Linked DNA regions of Homo sapiens: all the other regions are linked to region 2. Evidence: promoter capture Hi-C in 16 types of primary human blood cells and fetal thymus (Javierre and others, 2016). All regions are on one chromosome and are shown on one strand. Each heading gives the region's core, a stretch centred on a gene start or on the middle of the fragment in contact. The rest is flanking DNA. Distances are from core to core; before and after follow the strand shown. Region 1 has its middle 230 kb from the start of PRDM2. Region 2 holds the start of PDPN (podoplanin). Region 3 has its middle 180 kb from the start of PRDM2. Region 4 has its middle 200 kb from the start of PRDM2. Region 5 has its middle 340 kb from the start of PRDM2. Region 6 has its middle 280 kb from the start of PRDM2. Region 7 has its middle 250 kb from the start of PRDM2.

Region 1 (2,700 bases), core at 103-2,602, 340 kb before region 2:
ACTGATGTTGTGTGACCTTGGGCAAGTCACTTACCCTTTCTAAGCTTCAGTGTTAACAGAACAATAAGAAAAGAAAAATAGGAATTCAGGGAGATAATACACAGAGTGCCAGGTATATAACAAGTTCTCAGAGAAGCTGTTACTATGGTTACAGTTGTCATCATCAATGTCACCACTGTCATCATCATCATCATACATGATCCAGAAGGACCCAGCAAAAGGAAGTAACACAACGGGATCTCCACCCAAGTTTCTTAACTATATGAGAAAGCACTTTCAGGAGAACCCCAGGTATGGCACATTTTTAAAGTCACAGGCTATTAGTTTACAGGAACCTGATCTTCTCCGCAAAACCTGAGCAATGAAATTTCTGACCACTGCATACAAACACACCCTCTGCTTCCTCCAGTATGTGTAGCTTAGCTCTGTGGTTAACAGTTTCAGCTCTGAAATTGGATGGAGCCAAGCTGGAATTTCACCTCTGCCATTGACTCGGCTCTCTTTTCTGTTCCTTGAACCCACTGCCAGGCTTGTTCCCACCATAGAATCTTTGCAGGGGCCCTGCCCCTGCCTGGGATGCCCTCCTCCTTGATGTTCATGTGACCATATCTTTTCCATCACTCAGGTCTCAGCCCAAATGTGGCCCCTTGCAGGGCAGCCTCTGAGCACCCTGTACTTGTGTCTCTTCCGCTCCACACATCCAGTTTCCTCTCTGTTTCAGTTGCTATGCGACCTTCTAAATATCAGAATATGGATCTAGCTTTTGGATTCCCACTAAGATGCAAGCTTCTTGGGGCAGGAAACTTCTCCATCCTGCATCCACTGTATTTTCCATGCCTAAAAACATGCCTGGCTCAAAAGAGATCCTCCACCAAGAGCCACTGAATCAAAGAATGCAACAGTACCATTGGGATTTGAACATAGGTCCAAAGTGGATAAAAGTGAAGTTGGGATTTGGACATAGGTCTGCCTGGGACACAGACCAAACTCCTAACCCACCTCTGATGGTTCTTTGCCCAGCTATTCCTAACCTTGTCTTCTGATGTGATGAGCAGAAAAAAATACTTCCTCCTGCTCAAACCCTTTTAGGTGTCTGTAAACAGCTCCCAGGCCCCATTTTAAGCCCTCTCTGTAATGCCCCACTGTGCTCAGCTCTGTTTTATACAGAAAGTCTTCCAAACCTGCTTCAGGGTCCCTGTGTGACCTTCTAGTTCCTCAGTGTCTTTCTTCTCCAACTGCACTAGGACCAGGTTCATTCCAGGGAAGACACAGGCACCTTGATATTGTACTTCTATTAACAAAACCCAGGACTGCATTATTATGATCTTAAAAGATTTCTGAAAGGGCTTTATAGAACACGGAAATTGGGTCACACACAAAAACAAGAATCCTGCTTGATGAAACTGAAAATGTGACATCTCTTTTTTAGCATAGCTGCCACGCTACAATGACAGAATCTTGCATGAGGGTTTTCATGGAAAACAAAGGGCCGAGTGACATGGGATTTTAGGCACTTTACGACAAATGCATATTTAAAACACATATTTTTGCAGGTTTTTTTCTTTGAGCACCATAGCAAGGTTAACCTTTGAAAGGGAGCAAAAATCATAGATGATAAATGTTTCTTGTCTCCCTAGCTATTCCCTTTGAAGCCCTAACTTGGAAAAATAGCAAATATGGAGGATGCTATTTTAACTGTCACCCCAGTATCAAATATGATATGTCACTCCAGCCAGCATTTTGTCACCTTAAGATACTGATTTGTGCTTGGGAAAATTTACAGCCATTTATGGCTGTCATGCACTGAAGTTCCCAGGAGATTTTTTTTTTTTTTTTAACTCTTAAAGATAAATCTTCCTTTCTTATTTTCATTGCCTGGTTATTTTTACTCATTAATAACAAGGACCTGTAAGCTTCACTGTAATCAGGACCCAATGTCACTGGCTACACGTGTACATGCCTTTGTGCAAAGGGGACTTGAAAATAGGGAAAAGGCAGGGGAAATGTGGGAGGAAGCCATCGGGTGACTCAGAAACACAAGTGGAGACTGTTCATTGCTTCATTCTTGTCCTAAACATGGAATTCGAAAATTTCAGGGTAAGAAAAGAAAGCACCTCCAGCTCACATAGGCAGAGTTGCCACCACACTAAGAGTGAGCCCCTATTCTCCCAGCAGGGAGGTGCAGTGTTCACTGGTGGTCTCAGCCAGCCAGGGCAGACAGCCAGCCTGGTGTGTCCTAGTCCTGCCCACTCTGGGTAGTAACAGCACGGTGAGCCAGGGCATAGGGAAGCATGAAGTGCTGTCGGAGTCAGCAAGACCCCAACTCAGTTTGGGAGAGAATTGGTGAAAGCTTCCTAGGAGAAGTGACTCATTAGTGAAGACTCAAATGAGAACTAGATCCTTTGAAATGAAAAAAAACAAAGGGAGAGAGAAACCATTATCAAAACCAAATCACGCTCTGTCCCCCAACCACCCCATATGTGCCCCTCCCAAGTCTCTACCATCTCAGTCAATGGCCACTCCATCCTATGGGCCACCCAGGGGAGACCCTCATGGTCATTCACTCTTCTGCCCTCACTCCCCAACTTCAATCATCAGCAAATCCTCCAAGAACTATTTTTGAAATGGATCCCAACTCTATTTGCAACTCCCAGTGCTTGAGTCCAATTCATGGTCACACCCACTCTTCCCAACCTGGAC
Region 2 (2,700 bases), core at 70-2,569:
CTCAGCAACCTCCAGCCCCAAAGATCACGAGTTAGGTTACAATTCCTTCAACCAACATTTAGTGAGCAACTACTATGTGCCAGGCATTGTTTTGGCCGTGGGGAATCATGGCTGGATGTAGCTGCGTCCTGCAGAACATATGTTCTATTGAGGAAATATAAAAATAAAAACCCAAGAAAAGAAAACAAAATGTTGACAGATGTCAATGGAGACCACCAACACAGCAACCCAGCGGGAAGAGGTAAGGCTCCAGGAGAGGACAAAGGGTAATGGAAGCTGTGGACGCCCCCACCCCAACATGGGATACAAAATATTTAAAGCCTAAGGAGTCACCAACAGACATTCAGCCACTGATGTTGTTGCCCAAGATGAACACGTGGCTCAAACCCACTTAAACCTCAATGTTCGTAACGCGTAACAATCCTCATGCACTCACACTCCTCGGAAGCCTCCACTTGGATCCTTTCCACACACACTATCCTCTCTAAAGAGGATAAAGGAGGCCTCTTCCAGTCCAGTGACGGGGTGCTGAGTGTGTCCAACAGGCAGGGCGCCAGACTAGGTAGTCCCAAGGGGGACCAGGGCCACCGCAGGGCGGGGAACCCTCCCCTTGGCCCAAGCCCTCCTGAACGTCCCTCCTGATTCTACGAGGCCAGCTTCTCCCGAGGCGTGCGTATTCCTCCAACACACCGCTCTATGGGAAGGAAACCCCAGCCACTGCTGCCAGCAAGCGGGGCTGCCTACTGTGAACCTTCCACCCGATCTCTCTGGTGCTGCCGACTCGGAGGGAGGCCCCCTGTGCTGCCCACCTCGCAGCCTGTGGATTCCGGGGCTCCTCCCGGCACACCCGCGCAGCTGCGTCTTTGGGACCTGGCACCGACTAAGCCGCTGCCTCTCCTCCTCCGGCGCTCAGCCGCCTGACACGCACACACCCTCAGCTCCCCCGCGCTCCCCTGGACAACCTCGAATACCAGGCCCGGGCATTCCAGCAAGTCTCTGCTCGCTCGTCCCCATCAGCGACGGCAGGAAGCCACTTGCGCTGGGTCTTACCTCCTTCTGCCAGGACCCAGAGCGACGCGCTTCCCAAAACGAAGAGCAGAGCTGACACCTTCCACATCGTTCCCGTTGAGTTGTTGCTCTCCTGGGGGCCGAGCAGCAAGATTCTGAGCTGGGGGAAAATTAAAAAGCACCGCGGCCACAGGCCCAGCCTGGAGGAGCGCGACGGTGGGGGGGCCGGAGGGGTGGGAGCAGGAGCCCCGGAGAGGGAGGGTGCCCGAGCTTCCCAGACCCTAGGCAGCCGGACAGCAAACTTTGCAGTTGAGAACTTTCCGAGCGGAGTCAGCATTTATCTCTCCCGAGGAGGCGGGGGAGCGGGGTCGGCCGCAAGGTGGTCTCCGTCCGGGCGCGCTAGGCCCGCCCTCGGGCTCTGTTTGGCCGGCGCCAAAACGATGATCTCAGGCCAGGTTTAAAGTTACAGGGCCGCAGCTGCGGGGGCCGCCAGGACTGCGGGCCCTGGCAAAATGGGCTTTTATTCTGCTCAACAACAGGAGGGAAAGGGACCACATGCAACAAACGGGGTTTTAAAAATTATATATAAATTTTAAAAAACCTATATTTATTATTATTATTTTTTTAAGAGTAAGGCACAAGTCTATGTTTTTCTTGTTATGGGCAGAAGTGAGAAGTAAACTGTTTCTTGAGTGGCCAGTAGTTTTAGAACCAAGCATGGGGTTTTTCCTGTAAATATTGAATTTGATGGCTTAAAAACAAAAAAAGTTGGCCGTCATCTGGGTGGGCCAGAGGCGGCCCGCGCTGGTCAATTGCGCCCTTGTCCCGGGGACCGGAGCGGGCGGGCTCCGGGGGGCTGCCCCAGAGCTGGCTGGTGGGGGAGTTTGGCAGACCGGGTGGCTTTGGCAGTTTTGAAAAAGAGGCTGAACTCCATCCGCCTCTGCCGACCCGGGGATCCAGCGCTGCGATGCTGTGGCCCACCGACGTGCGCAGTTGGATTAGGCCGGGCCAAGCGGTGACCCGTCTGGTCGCCAAACCTGTGTCCCCTTCCAGGCCTGGTTCACCCTCTTTATTCCTGAGTTTGCTCCCATAATCCTCACTTTACTGGTTTAAGCGATCTTGCCTTGATCTCAGGTACCAGATATCAGCAACCAGAGAACTTACGTCTTTTACTTTAATTCCTTCTGAATTGCTGGAATTTAAAAAAATAAGAACAGGAGTTTGGGAAGTGGTCTCTGCTCCACTCCCAGATGCCACAAATTCCATTCAACAAAAGAACCTGAAGACTAACGCTGTCTCAAAGCTCCACATTGCGTGAAAATTGTTTTCAGATGCTTATCTTTGACCCCTCCCCATTATAAATTTACTTTCTAAGAATCACAGGAGAGATTGTTTTAAATAAATGCCCAGTTTCCTGGGTTCCACCCCAAACTCATTAATCAGACCTTTTCGGAATTCCTATTTTAAACCAGTGTCGCTGGAGAACTTGTCCCCATGAACATTTGGCAAACCTTGCCCTTCATCATAGCTTCTCAGCCAGATCTACCTGGGGCACTGGTTATGCAGGTGCAATTCTGTTGTGGGATAGGGAGAGATTCTGCATTTCTAAAGATCTCCCAGGTAACGTCTTGTCCTGGGGCTACAAACAGGAGCTGAGCACCTGAACCTAGAAGATGAGGGGTAGCGGCAACA
Region 3 (2,700 bases), core at 129-2,628, 300 kb before region 2:
AATTGCCATGTGGAACTCTATATGCATTGAAAATATCCTTCAATAATGTAGGTGAAATAAAGAAATTTTCAGACCAAAGAAATCTAGGAAAATTTAATACCAGCAGACACATCAAGAAGACACTAAAGGGAGTTTCTTCAAGGAGGAGAAAAATGAAGCCAAGTGGAAGCTCAGAGCCATGGAAACGAACAAAGAGCTGTGAAAAGGTTAATTGTGGCTAAGTCTAAATTAAATATAACTTAATGTTGACTATGAATTCATAATTACTAATGGTTAACATTAATTTATCTTATATTAACAGGTCAGTGATACACTGTAGGATTTAAAGTATATATAGAAATAAAATACAGAGCAAAAATAGCTTAGAAGTTGAAAGAAGAACAATGGAATTAAAATGTTCTAAGGTCCTTGCATTGTCCAGGGAAAAATAGAAGGATTAATTTATATTAGACATTAATAAGTCGAGGATACATACTACAATCTCTTGTATAACCACTGAAAGTTTATAAAAGCGTACAAAATCACCATACTAATAGGAAGGGAAAATGAGTATAAAAATAATCAATCCAAAAGATATCAGGAAAGGAGAGAAAAAAGAATTGTAAAGAAAGCTAGTATACTATGTTGCTATCAGACAAAGTAGACTTAAAAATTAAAAAAAAAAAAACCCAGTTCTAGCAATCAAAAACATCCTTCATAATAACAAAATGATCAATTTAACAAGCCTCCAAACATGAGCAAAAAATTGACAAACTGCAAAAAACTAAACCCAGAAGTGAAAAACTAAACAAAAAGCAAGCAATACAGAAAAATTGAACACAATTAACATATTGACTAACAGACATATATAATGGATCAGTTGTGCCTGACAAGTACAGCGTATACATTCTCTTCAGAAAAAAAAAAAAAACACAGAGAACATTACAAAAATTGTCCCTTTGCCAAACCTTAATTCACATCTCAAAAAGTGTCATAAGAATAAAGAGAATTTTTTTAATCTGATAAATAATTTGTATTAAAAAGCCTACAGAAAACATCCTTCACAACATTCATGAAATATTGAAAGCTTCCTCTTAAGATGAGGAATGAGACAAGAATGGCCACTATCATCATTTCTATACAACATTATACTGGAAGTAAAAGAGACAAGATTTGAGGTTTGAAATAGAAAAATAGAATTGTCACTATTTGCAGTTGGCATGATTGTGGTAGAAAATCCCAAAAGAAAAGTATACAGATAAATTATTAGAATAAACTTAGCAATGTTGCTACATAAGCATAAGGTACACGTTAAAATGTAAATTATATTACTGGATGTGGAACAAAATAAACTTTAAGAAACTATAACATTAACATCAAAATATATCAAATAACAAGGAATAAATCTAACAAAAAGCCCTTAAGACCACTCTACAGAAATCTATGAGACGGGCAGAAAGGAAAGGAACCTAAACAAATGAAGACATGCACCACTGAGTCATAGTTTGATGACTCAATGTTGTAAAAACTTCAATTCTCCCAAATTAATCTACACATTTAATCAGATCAAAATTTAAGCAGATTTTCTGTAAACATTGACAAGATGATTCTAGAATTTAACTGGAAAGGCAAAGGGCCAAAAGCTCTTGGTGAAGGCCACCAGAAATGAAGACTTGTTCCACCAGATGCTCCAGACAGATAATTAAGCTTCAGTAGTTAGGAGAGCATGGTATTGGGCTAAGAATACACAGAGAGATCAATAATGAGAATAAAGTGTCCAGAAGCTGACTCACTATTGCATTAGGACAACACCATCACTGCAGGGCAGCGGAGATGCTTAATGGCGGTCAATCAAGTGGAAATTCATATGGAGAAAAAAAGTGAAAGTTGACCTCCACTTTACACCATAGATGGAAGTGAGTTACATGCAGATTGTAGATTTCAATGTGAAATCAAAACAAAACTTTTTTTTTTTTCCCCAGACGGAGTCTTGCTCTGTCACCCAGGCTTGGAGTGCAGTGGTGCGATCTCGGCTCACTGCAAACTCCGCCTCCTGGGTTCAAGTGATTCTCCTGCCTCAGCCTCCCGAGTAGCTGGGATTACAGTCGCCCGCCACCACGCCCAACTAATTTTGTATTTTTAGTAGAGACGGGGTTTCACTGTGTTGGCCAGGCTGGTCTTGAACTCCTGACCTCAAGTGATCCACCCACCTCAGCCTCCCAAAGTGCCGGGATTACGGGTGTGAGCCACCACACCCAGGCAAAACAAAACTTCTTGACAGTGATAGAGAATACCTCTATGGCTCTGGTAACGGTGGGCGGGCAATACTTCTTAAACGAGACACAAAAAGCACCAACCATTAGGGAAAAGATTGATAAATTAGATATCAAAGTTAAGAACTTCTCCCATTTCTGTGACTAGTCTTTCTACTCTCTTATTATTGTCTCTTGATGAAAGAAAGAAATGTGTAACACCTATAACCAAGAAAAGATTCATATTCTCATTATAGAAAGAACTCCCCCAAATCAATAAGGCAAAAAACTCAGTTAAAACATAGACAGGAATGGATGCAGTGGCTCACGCCTGTAATCCTAGCACTTTGGGAGGCCGAGGCAGGAGGATTGCTTGAGTCCAGGAGTTCGAGGCCAGCCTACACAACACGGTGAAACCCTGTCTCTATAAAAAATACAAAAATTTGCCAGGCATATTGGTGCGCGCCTG
Region 4 (2,700 bases), core at 86-2,585, 320 kb before region 2:
AGTCCTGGATTGAGAGGGGTTGAGAGTGATCTCCCTTAATACCTCATTACTTCAAGCTTACCCTCATATGAGTTGGGGTTCAAATTTATACTACCAGGGAATGTATGGAAATATCCAGCCTGGAAATTAACATTACCTACGGTAATAACATCTCACAGATAAAATTCCTAGAATAAGCTCAAAATCCAATCTTGCAAAGTGCATGAGGTAATAAGCTATCTTAGACATGAGTCAACAGAAAAGCAGAAGAAATGTACTCAGGAGTGCCAGAATTGGATTATAAAATTCCTTTATCAGATAAGTATTAATTTTAAATGATTAAATAAATAAAACATATGATCAAGAGCAAGAGAGACAAAGATTATCTTAAAAAATAATACCTGGGAGATTTGAAAACTATTCAATGAGAACTTCTAGAGGTTAAAAAAAGACATTCAATGAAAAATGAATTGCCTGAGTTCAGCTGAAGATTAGACACAGCTAGAAAGAAAATTAATGAACCAGAAGATAGTTTTTAAAGTCATTATCCAGAATGCAACAGAGAGACAAAGATGGAAAATATGAAAAAGAGTTCAAATTGAGAAGTCTAACACAAGTCACAAAGGAATTTCTAAAGGAGGGATAGAAAGAATGGGAATCAGTGTTCAAAGAAATAAGTAACTGAACATGAGTTACATGATTTGCATCTGAGATGCAAATCCTCAGATCTGAGAAGCACAAACCCCAGATAGGATAAATAAAATTAGACCTACCCCTAGCTACACTGTAGTGAAACTACAGAGCTTCCAGGACAAAGACTTTCAAAGCAAATCCATAGAAAAGAGAGATCACCTACAGAGAAATGACCCCAAAATCAAAGACCAACAGCAACAGCAGGAACCAGAAACAGAGGAACATCCTTTCCAAAATGTTGAGAGAAAATAACTCAACTTAGAAATCTATATCCAGCTGACATTATCCAGTAACAGTAGCCAAAATAAAACTAAACATTCTAGAGACCCAGCTGTGGAGGCTTTGCTGTAGCTTGTCCTGGCCTCCAGTGCAGATTGGTCTTGATCATGGATGATCATCTCAGCTGTGACTGGCCTGATCCCTACAACCCAACTTCTCCAACCTGGGAGTTCTCCCAGCAATACTTTCTGCTTAACAGGCCACAGGGTGTTGCCTATTAATGGAAGGGAGGAGGCATGAGGGGTTCCCTTCCTGAGATACTATTCCTTTTCACCTGTCTTAGAAGTGGCTATTTCCTCTGTGCTGAGGAAGGTGCATGCTGGCCTCCAGCATCCCAGGGCACCTCCTCGCCCGGCCTTCTGCCCCTCCATCCTCTGCTCCCTTGCCCTAGTCCTTCTTTGGATCCCTCTACCCAGCCTTTCAGACAACTGCTCCATGTTAAGCACTGATGACATTGTAGACCCTGCCTCAGTCTCCAAATAGACCTTTCCACATTTCCTGACACATTTCTGAGTCTACCATGTCTCTGTGCGGAGTGGTTCATGCCTCTCTAGAGCTCGCATCCCTTCCTGGAGACCTGTTGCTTCTGGTGCTCCTGACTGGGGCTGCAGTCACCCAGGGACTCAGAGGGACCCACCACATACATTCCTTTTCAGATTCACTTCTCACCATGGAATCAAGGTCAAAACTTCTGTCTTTTCAAGTAGCTAAGAGCACCACCCTCTTAGAGCTGCTCAAAATCTCTTTAAGTCTCTCCCCAGCAGTGGCCGTCTTCCTCCTGCCCATCACTCCTCTAATTCCCTAGCCTGGCAGAGATGAAAACATCCTCCTCCCTTTTTCCCTTTACTCCTGTCCCCAGACCAGTTCTTTCTTTAAGTGACCTAACTCGTCTTCACTATATGTAACTGGTAATGGCTTTGGGGAGATCAAAGAGAAGACTTCAAGTTTCAGGAAGTCCAGCCAAGTGGAATCTAGCCTGGCCACTCAGCCGCCATCATGACATTGTCTTTGTCCTTCGATGGGAGTCCCCCACTGGCTCTCCTTCCCTTTGGGGTCCGAGGCTGAGTCTCCCTCCTAGCCACACTGGCACTAGACCCTGTAGATGACAACAAAAGGTAAATGCAGGCACTAAAGAGGATGCTTGATATAAAGGGCCGACAAAAACGCAGTTACTTTTCAGATGAAAGTCCAGACTCCATGTCTGTTTCATCTAGCTCATTCCTTACATACTTAGAAAACAGATGTGATCTGAATTGGTCAAGGAACTAATGTCCAAAAGAAAAATGTGGTCCAAGACCATAAAACCACAAGTGGGTTCTTCATCAAGGTCTGAACATCATCGCCCAGAGAGATGGGTGGCTGGGAATGCCAGTACATCATTAGTATATAATTTTATATTTTCAAAGCATTTTACAGCAAGACTTTTATAATCTTCCCTACTCCAAACATCACATTGTCAGTGTTAAGACTTCAAATAATCCCTGATGCTTTGGGGTTTCCCACTGACCCATGTGGAAACCCACCTCATTTGCTTCTTGCCTTGTGGTTCCCATCACGGGCTGAGCCTTACTCACCCATGGCCATATCATGGGGACCATCATGGAGGTTTTGTTAAACCTACAGCCATTACATTTTATTCAGGAAGAATGGGAGGGAAAGCTTGTCTGTTTAAGAGCTTTTTCCTCAATTTATTTACTTATGTATTTTGATTGATACATAATAGTTCATATTTTGAGGGTGCATGTGATA
Region 5 (2,700 bases), core at 158-2,657, 450 kb before region 2:
CTGTGCTCCTTTCCCCTGTGGAAGAGGGCTGGAGAGGTCGCCCAGCATACTGAGTGCATGAATGTCAGGGTTTTCTCTAAATCTCCAAGGATGCAACACTACAAGGCTGTTTATATTGATCAACAGCATGCATGGAAGTTAACATAAATCAATTAGTAAAATGCTCAGGCAGCAGCGATTGCTAAACTATACTGTGTAAATAAAAGTTTTAAATATAAAACATGATGATCAAATCTATTAACCATGCTCAGCCCTGCCAAGCTCTACCGTGACCTTCAGCAGCAGAATTTTCAGCTGTCACTCAAAGCCCACTGCCGACTCATGTGGACAATCTTGCATTGCTAGATGTTAGGGTCGTCTCAGAACTTAACCCCAAGTCCCATCTTTAATAACAATGACAAAGTGCATCGATACAGCACTTGACAATTTGCCAGCCTCTTTCAAACACTTTATTGGTTGACTTGGTCCTTGCTGTATGCCTTGATAAGAGGGCAGCTCATAGGGAGACCGTGGAGGCAGACGTAGAGAGTGGAAGTCTTGGCTCTGCAATTTACCATCTTGTCTGGAAGCAGGCAACTTAATTTCAGGGTTAGATACGTTGTTCTCAAATAGCTATTACTTTAATTCCTACTTTTTTTTTTTTTTTTTTTGAGACAGAGTCTCACTCTGACGCCAGGCTGGAGTGCAGTGGCACGATCTTGGCTCACTGCAACCTCCTACTCCCTGGTTCAAGTGATTCTCTTGCCTTAGCCTCCCGAGTAGCTGGGATTACAGGCACACACCACCATGCCCAGCTAATTTTTTGTGTGTGTATTTTTAGTAGAAATGGCATTTCACCTTGTTGGCCAGGATGGTCTCAATCTCCTGACCTCATGATCCACCTGCCTCAGCCTCCCAAAGTGCTGGGATTACAGGCATGAGCCACTGCGCCTGGCCTTTAATCCCTACTTTTACAGAGGTGAAACTGAAGCTTAGAGAGTGAGTTATTTGTAAAGGGAATTGGAAAAACGGATTCACACCCAAATCTATTTATCTCATTTTCAACTCCATGCTTCGCTTTGCACTGCTTCCATGGATTCCTGAACCCCCTGCAGCTTCATCACAGGTATGACCTAAGGCAAGGTTTCCTGTGTCCTTTGAAAGGCAGAGACCCTGCACCCCTCCCGAGGACTCTCTTCAGTGGAGCCCAGGGAGGAAGGCACTGGTGTCTATGGTTGTCGCTCAGCTCCCAGCATCCCACTTTCATGACCCAATTGCAGTCCTACAGTGAAAGGTATATTGAAAAGGAGGGCAACCTGGAGCCCTGCCCTCAGACCTCATTTCCTTTTGCTCTCCCCCAGGCTTATTCTTCTGAGGTCACCTGTCCCAGGTGCTGTCCTTTAAATGTGCAGGATGTTCCTGCATAAGGCCTTTGACCTGGGGGCTCCCTTTGTCTGCAACTTTCTCCCTCCAGAGAACCATATGGCTAACTTCTTCACTCTCCGAATCATCCCTCAAGGGTTAACTTCTCAATGATGTCTGACCTCACCACCCTACTTAAAATCACAACTGCACCTGCCCCACCCAGACCCCCAGATCCCTTTCCTGCTCTGCTTTACTCATATCCTTTAGTACCTTCTAAATACTATGTAACTTACTTGTGCTCATAGAGTATTGCTTGTCACTTTTGTTCACTGAGGGTCCTAGGTGCCTAAAACAGAGCCTGGCATATAGGAGGTGCCCAACAAACCTTACTGAACAAATAAATAAGTGGATGGATGGATGAATGGATGAATAGATGGGTGGACAGATGGATGGATGGACAGGTGGGTGGTTGAGTGAATTTAATCCCTTCCTTAAGCTTTGCAGGTAGCCAGCCTCTCACCCCCTAAAACCCAAAGCTTTCAGGGTTCTACATATGCACCAGTGCAGGCAAGCAATGCGTCCTAGGCTTTTAGTAAAGCATGGGCCCATTAGAGAGCAGCCTAAACAAACCCACTGGTGCAGAAACACTATTCTACTCAGCCAAAGTCTGCAGGGTGTGGACACAAATGAAGAAACCAACTCAGGCAGCACGGCTGGGAGACTTCAGAGGCTTAATTGAACCCCATTTCTTCATGATGTAGGCAGCTTATTTGTGACCAGGCTGCCACCAAGCCAAATTTACTGTGACATGCTGACAGCTGCTTCTGTGCTGGAGTTCTTGAAAACAGCTGGAGGAGAGGAACAGATACTTCTAAATCAAAGGTTCTTTCTCCCCGCAAGCCACACGATAGCTGCTGCCTGAGGAGCTGGGCTGTGCACATCAGGACTCAGGGTTCTAAATTTGGTCCCTATTCCTCCACTGACCAACAAGGGAGGTAAGACAGAATCAACAGAAAGGAAGAATAGCTTCAGACAAGAGTCAGTGCAGAGATTTCTCCGCTTTATACGAAAGCATCAGAAATGCTGTTTCTACACTGGTAGGGGATAGCTTTAGGTGAATTTAGAGAGGTAAGAGGCAAACACTTTGAGTAAGGGCAAACGGAGAGGGCAGCCTGTCATGCAAATGGAATGTCTAGCAATAGGCAGCTGGATAAATAAATGATCATGCATCTTAACAAGGAACTGCCATGTAGCCATTAAAACTAGTATTGTAGAACTGTATTTACTGGCATGGAGAGAGGTCTATGATGTATTCAGTGGAAAAAGTGGGCTATAAAATAATCCCACCCTATGTGA
Region 6 (2,700 bases), core at 114-2,613, 390 kb before region 2:
TATAAAGAAAATGAACTCCATCAGGCTGGCAAACAGGAACCTCAGCATCCTAGATATTTTTAATATGATGGCTTTCTTACTGCAATTTCTGCGGGGAATAATATATAGGGAAATAATGTTTCTCCTTTGTGATTACATTACCATATGGAGTAATTTTTCTTGACAAGGAGGTCATTTCATCTGATGAGTTCTTGAACAGTGAAATGGAAGCTTGGTTCTATGACAGCAAAGGACAGATTGACTTATTAAAACCGTTACATTACAGATTTTTATTAGTCGATTTCCCATTTGCTCTCTTTGAAAATCAAAAGCATGGATGCATTTGGAAAGTCCATCAGAAAATATTAAGAATAAAAATTAGACAGAATGGTCATTATTGTAAATGGAAAAATCATCTGAAAACTAAGGATTCTAGAGGCCAACTTTAAGAATTCTCACGAAGACATTATTTGGAGAGCAGAACAGATGGGGTATATTAATGGAAGAACCAGCCTCACAAGATAAACAGCCAAAGTTTTAGAAAAATCACCCAGGCATCTGAATTCAAGGCAGGGTGCAATGGACTGAACAAAATTAATTGTCCTAGACACCAAAAACACAGAGGAAAAGTGGCCTAAATCTAGGAGAGACTTCCAAAGCACTCTGAGAAATGTTGCTTTACTTTTTCATCAAAACACCTTTCAGAAGCTGGGTTTACTATGCGTGTACTCATATTTATTCCTTTTGATTCATTCATTCATTCATTCATTCAGCAAGCCTTGACTGACCCCATCAATGTGCCAGGACCACAAAAAACATCATGACGTGACTCGTGTTCCCGACTAGTTCATGATCTGGTAGGGGAGACAATTGAGTCAATACTATCTACCTGCCGGTGTGTTAAGTTTTGTTTAAGGAAATGTATGGCTCATTCATCCACTCATTTGATCAATATTTGATGAGTATCTATTCTGTTCTAAGTTTTTACTCAGCACTGGGGACTCAAGAGCATGTTTGGGTAGCTATAATTTAACAGACATATGATAAACAAATACATAGAGAAAGTCCAATTGTGTTTCAAGTTGCAAATTAGGCACATGCAGCTCTTTTCCGCTACACATGGTTCTAAGTGCAGAGGAAAGAGTCGAGCCTCTGAAGCATCACCTCTCAGCCCACTGATATCTGAAGCTCCTTTCTCACTCAAAGATACTCTTAGAATAAAGAGACCTTTTTTATATGCTTGGTATGGGCTGTGATGAAGTAACCAAGTGTTCTGAACAGTGGCCTTGAAGTGCCTCACAATCAAAGGCCTCCCCAGGCCCCACTCCTGCCTTCTGAGTAATGACAGAAAGTGCCAAATTCGATCCAAATACATGTGGAGGCAGGGGTGGGCAGCTGACTCAGCCACCACCCTGACACACTCTATGATCTGTCTTCCTACTGTAGGCTCTCAACGTAAAATCTCTAAGAGCAGAGTCCCCATCTGTTCTTATCACTCTACACCCAAAATCCAGCACAGTGCCTAGAACATGGAAAGTGATCAATAAATACATGTTAAATGAACAACTAGAAAACAACATAATTAGGATAAGAAAAGTGCTATAAAAATAAATAGATCATCTGATAGCAAATTACACTGTAGGGAAAGGGCGGATATAAAAAAGAGTTAACAAAGCAGTCTTGAAGGTCTGTGTGAGACCTCCAGGGTATCTAAGGTTTACAAGGTTGGCCCTTGGCTGGTGTAGTGGTTTTCTGGGGCTGCCATTACAAACTGCCACAAAATAGGTGGCTTAAAATAACAGAAATTGACTCCCACACCGTTCTGGAGGCTGGAAATCCCAAATCCAGCAGGACCTTGCTTCCTTTGCTTCCTCAGGGAGCTCTAGGGGAGAAACTGTCCCTTGCCTCTTTCAGCTTTTGGCAACCCCAGGCATTCCTTGACTTGTGGCAGCAGCATTCCCATCTCAGCCTCCATGGTCACATTGTCTTCTCCTCTTCTGTCTGCCAAATTGTTCCTTATAAGGGATACTTGTCTCTTATGAGGACACTTGTCACTGGATTTAGGTCCCACCCAGATAATCCAGGATGATGTCTTCATCCCAAGATCCTTAATTAATTACATCTGCAAAGACCCTTGTCCAAATAAGGCCACATTCACAGCTTCTGAGAATTCGATGTGGGCAGATCTTTAAAGGCACCATTTTTCAACTCACTACAGCTGGTATCTGCCAACTTACATCTTAAACAGTTCCCTACACTGATATAAACTTTCCCTAAATGATAAGAGTGGCCCATTATGCCTAGATTGTTTGTACAATGTGGTTTATTCTAGGCAGCTGCTTGTTCTTCTGGGTCTGGAGTTTTGGTACATGCTAGGCAGAGAAGATCTACATAACCAGCCCCCATTAAAAACACTGGCAGTGAATCTCTTACAAATTCCTGGTTTGATAACATTTCACACACATTGTCACAATCCAGTGTTGGAGGATTGACACACATCCCATGTGACTCCCCTGAGCGAAGCTCCTGGAAGCTTGTGCCTGGTTTCCACCAGACTTTGCCCCATGCATCTCTTTCTTTGGCTGATTTTGCCTTGGATCATCCTAGTCCTAGCTGTGAGTATGACGATATGCATAGTCTTAGGAATCCTCCTGGTGAACCAACAGACCTGTGGGTGGTCGTGGGGACACCCGATGCAGGGGTCTACTTAATGAGGCACAA
Region 7 (2,700 bases), core at 165-2,664, 360 kb before region 2:
AGACTTGACACAGACACACTGCAGATGAGGAAGCAATGTCACTGATATGGTTTGGCTCTGCGTCCCCACCCAAATCTCATCTCAAATTGTAATCCCCATAATCCCCACATGCCCAGGTGTCAAGGAAGGGACCAGGTGGGAGGTGATTGGATCACGGGGGCGGTTTCCCCCATGCTGTTCTCATGAGTGAGAACATGCATCTTGAGTCCACTCACGATTTTGCCTCTTGCTACCCGAGTGACCCTAGGCAAGCTGCTGAGTGAGTTCCCGTAAGAGCTGATGGCTTTAGAAGGCAGTTTTCCCTGCTCTTGCTCATTATCTCTCACCTGCTCCCATGCAAGATGTGCCTTCTTCCCCTTCTGCCATGATCGTGAGTTTCCTGAGGCTTCCCCAGCCCTGAGGAACTGTGTGTCAATTAAACCTCTTTCCTTTATGAATTACCAAGTCTCAGGCACTTCTTTATAGCAGTGTGAAAACAGACTAATACAGTGACCATGGGGGCAGAGATCAGAGGGATGCAGTCACAGGTCAGGGAATGGGACAGCCACCAGAAGCTGGAAGAGGCAAGGAACGGATTCTCCCCCCAAGCCTCCAGAGAGAATGCAGCCCCACTGATACCTTAATTTTGGACATCCGGCTTCCAGAACCATGAAAGAATGCATTTCTGTTGTTGTAAGCCACTAAGTTTGTGGTCATTCGTAACAGCAGCCACACACATGAAAATACACTACCTAATATTAAAATATGAGGCATCATTTACAGGGCTCAGGTGCAGTGCTAGGAAGTAGGGTTACGGAGTAACACAGATAAAGACAGTGTCAGGTGACCTCAGGATCATAATACCTTAGCCATCTAGCATCTTTGACACACATTACAGGGCACAAGCAGGTGATCATGACCCTTTTGGAATATTAGTTCAACAAGTGTTTCTTAAGGATCCCAAGGATTGTCCTAGGTACTGGAGCAGGGGACAGTTGTGAAACAATGTCATAGGGAATTTTTAAACTTCCTCGTACTCCCTGGAATTTCCCAATTTTCTACAGTGAGTATAACCATAATGATTAGTATTGATCACGGTGTCGGCAGACTTCTGTGCTCTTGATTCTTCTTAATCCTCAAATTGCTCACTTTATTTCTATTTTATGGATGGGGAGAAGGAAAAGTAATTTGTCCCAGGTCACATGGATAATAAGAGGAAAATCCCGTTTTGAAACCCAGGAAGACTGGCTCCAGAATCGCAACTCTTCGCCTCTATGCATTCTGTGATTGAGAAAACAAAAACCATGCTTTAGAAGGCAGCTGTGTGATGTTTCTCCTCTTCTATCAGTAAGACTGTGGTAAGCATACTAGAATAAAGGCACTTAAATCATGACATGAGGGATTCGGGTTAGCCAAAAGAATGCATTTCTTAATAGAAAAGCACCAGAAATTGCTGACCAGGGAAAGAATACAGAAAAGCTAACTCTGGGTTTATTTAAAAATAGGAAGGTAGTTTCATCTGTCTGAGTGACTCTCCTGAGGACTTGGAAGCCCAGATTGTCTAACCACTGCCATCTGGCAGTTCTTGGTGCTGGAGAGAGGCCTTTTTTGGAAACAACCAAGACCCATAACTGTGCTTCCTCAGAAGTCCAGCAATAGGGACTTGGGCAGAGAAGGGAAGCAGGCATAGGAGCCATCTCGGATGTTCTGAAAACCACACCACTGCATCTTCCCCAATTCAGGTGGCCCTTGCCAGAACCAGCATTCCAATATCCCAGTTCACCCCATCTACCAGGCACCGGCTTCATAAAAAAATGTACTAAAGACTTAGGTTTAAAAACATTCTCTCTCTCTCTCTCTCTCTCTCTCACACACACACACACACACACACACACACACAAACTGAGAGCAAATGTCATTTAAAAAAATCATCCTATGGAACAGCTGTGTTAAAATTCCCAACTATGATTGTGGGTACACTGTTAGTTTTACCATTCATTGCTATATATATATTGTGAGTTGATATTAGCAAAGTGCACAGAACTTTTTTTTTTTTGAGATGGAGTCTCACATTCCTGATCAATTCTAATTTTTTTTTTTTTTTTTGAGACGGACTCTCCCTCTGTTGCCCAGGGTGGAGTGCAGTGGTGCCATCTCAGCTCACTGCAACCTCCGCCTCCCAGGTTCAAGTGATTCTCCTGCCTCAGCTTCCCGAGTAACTGGGATTACAGGCATGGGCCACCATTCCCTGCTAATGTTGTATTTTTAGTAGAGATGGGGGTTTCACCATGTTGGCCAGGCTGGTCTCGAACTTCTTACCTCAGGTGATCCATCTGCCTCGACCTCCCAAAGTGCTGGTATTATAGGTGTGAGCCACCACGCCCAGCCTGCACATAAATTTTTTATTCATATCTTCCAGATAGTATATCTTTCAGGTGGATTGAGCCTGTTATTGTTATTATTATGAAATGTTTCTCTTTATATCTAGTAATGTCTTTTACCTTCAGGTCCACTTTGTTTTATATTTTTTAAATGACACTAGCTTTCTTTTGATTAGTGTTTACAATGATATCTCTTTCTCTCCTTTTATTGTAAATCTGCCTGTATCACATATTTAAGGGATATCTCTTGTAAGCTCATAGTGTTGGATTTTTTTCTTTGTTACTGAGAACATCTAGTCTATTTACATATAATTATTTATATATCCAGGTTTATATCAAC

Evidence for each region. The method cuts DNA at HindIII sites, captures the fragments that hold promoters and counts their contacts. A CHiCAGO score of 5 or more calls a contact.
Region 1: a contact is called between a fragment that was not itself captured here and the fragment with the promoter of PDPN in region 2, in 1 of 17 cell types (total B cells). The highest score is 5.6, in total B cells.
Region 3: a fragment that was not itself captured here is called in contact with the fragment with the promoter of PDPN in region 2 in 1 of 17 cell types (total B cells); the score reaches 7.2 in total B cells.
Region 4: a fragment that was not itself captured here is called in contact with the fragment with the promoter of PDPN in region 2 in 5 of 17 cell types (naive B cells, neutrophils, total CD8 T cells and 2 more); the score reaches 6.4 in naive B cells.
Region 5: a contact is called between a fragment that was not itself captured here and the fragment with the promoter of PDPN in region 2, in 3 of 17 cell types (total CD8 T cells, naive B cells and activated CD4 T cells). The highest score is 6.7, in total CD8 T cells.
Region 6: a contact is called between a fragment that was not itself captured here and the fragment with the promoter of PDPN in region 2, in 3 of 17 cell types (naive B cells, total CD8 T cells and total B cells). The highest score is 5.6, in naive B cells.
Region 7: a fragment that was not itself captured here is called in contact with the fragment with the promoter of PDPN in region 2 in 1 of 17 cell types (total B cells); the score reaches 6.6 in total B cells.

The regions. Positions count from the first base shown.
Region 1 is chr1:13,925,789-13,928,488 of GRCh38, reverse strand. It overlaps a transcript of KAZN not described here. Among named protein-coding and RNA genes, the nearest start is that of PRDM2, 230 kb to the right of the region's middle. The HindIII fragment of the contact is 1,127 bases long and covers 789-1,915 here.
Region 2 is chr1:13,582,451-13,585,150 of GRCh38, reverse strand. PDPN (podoplanin) reads right to left here and starts at 1,319. Exons shown (of 6, transcript NM_006474.5): 1 at 1,051-1,319. The coding sequence starts at 1,117. RefSeq lists an enhancer at 878-1,416. The HindIII fragment of the contact is 6,524 bases long and covers 1-2,700 here.
Region 3 is chr1:13,880,654-13,883,353 of GRCh38, reverse strand. No RefSeq gene overlaps it. Among named protein-coding and RNA genes, the nearest start is that of PRDM2, 180 kb to the right of the region's middle. The HindIII fragment of the contact is 620 bases long and covers 1,069-1,688 here.
Region 4 is chr1:13,902,788-13,905,487 of GRCh38, reverse strand. It overlaps a transcript of KAZN not described here. Among named protein-coding and RNA genes, the nearest start is that of PRDM2, 200 kb to the right of the region's middle. The HindIII fragment of the contact is 2,554 bases long and covers 59-2,612 here.
Region 5 is chr1:14,037,120-14,039,819 of GRCh38, reverse strand. It overlaps a transcript of KAZN not described here. Among named protein-coding and RNA genes, the nearest start is that of PRDM2, 340 kb to the right of the region's middle. The HindIII fragment of the contact is 870 bases long and covers 973-1,842 here.
Region 6 is chr1:13,973,856-13,976,555 of GRCh38, reverse strand. It overlaps a transcript of KAZN not described here. Among named protein-coding and RNA genes, the nearest start is that of PRDM2, 280 kb to the right of the region's middle. The HindIII fragment of the contact is 2,302 bases long and covers 213-2,514 here.
Region 7 is chr1:13,944,859-13,947,558 of GRCh38, reverse strand. It overlaps a transcript of KAZN not described here. Among named protein-coding and RNA genes, the nearest start is that of PRDM2, 250 kb to the right of the region's middle. RefSeq lists a silencer at 501-733. The HindIII fragment of the contact is 5,257 bases long and covers 1-2,700 here.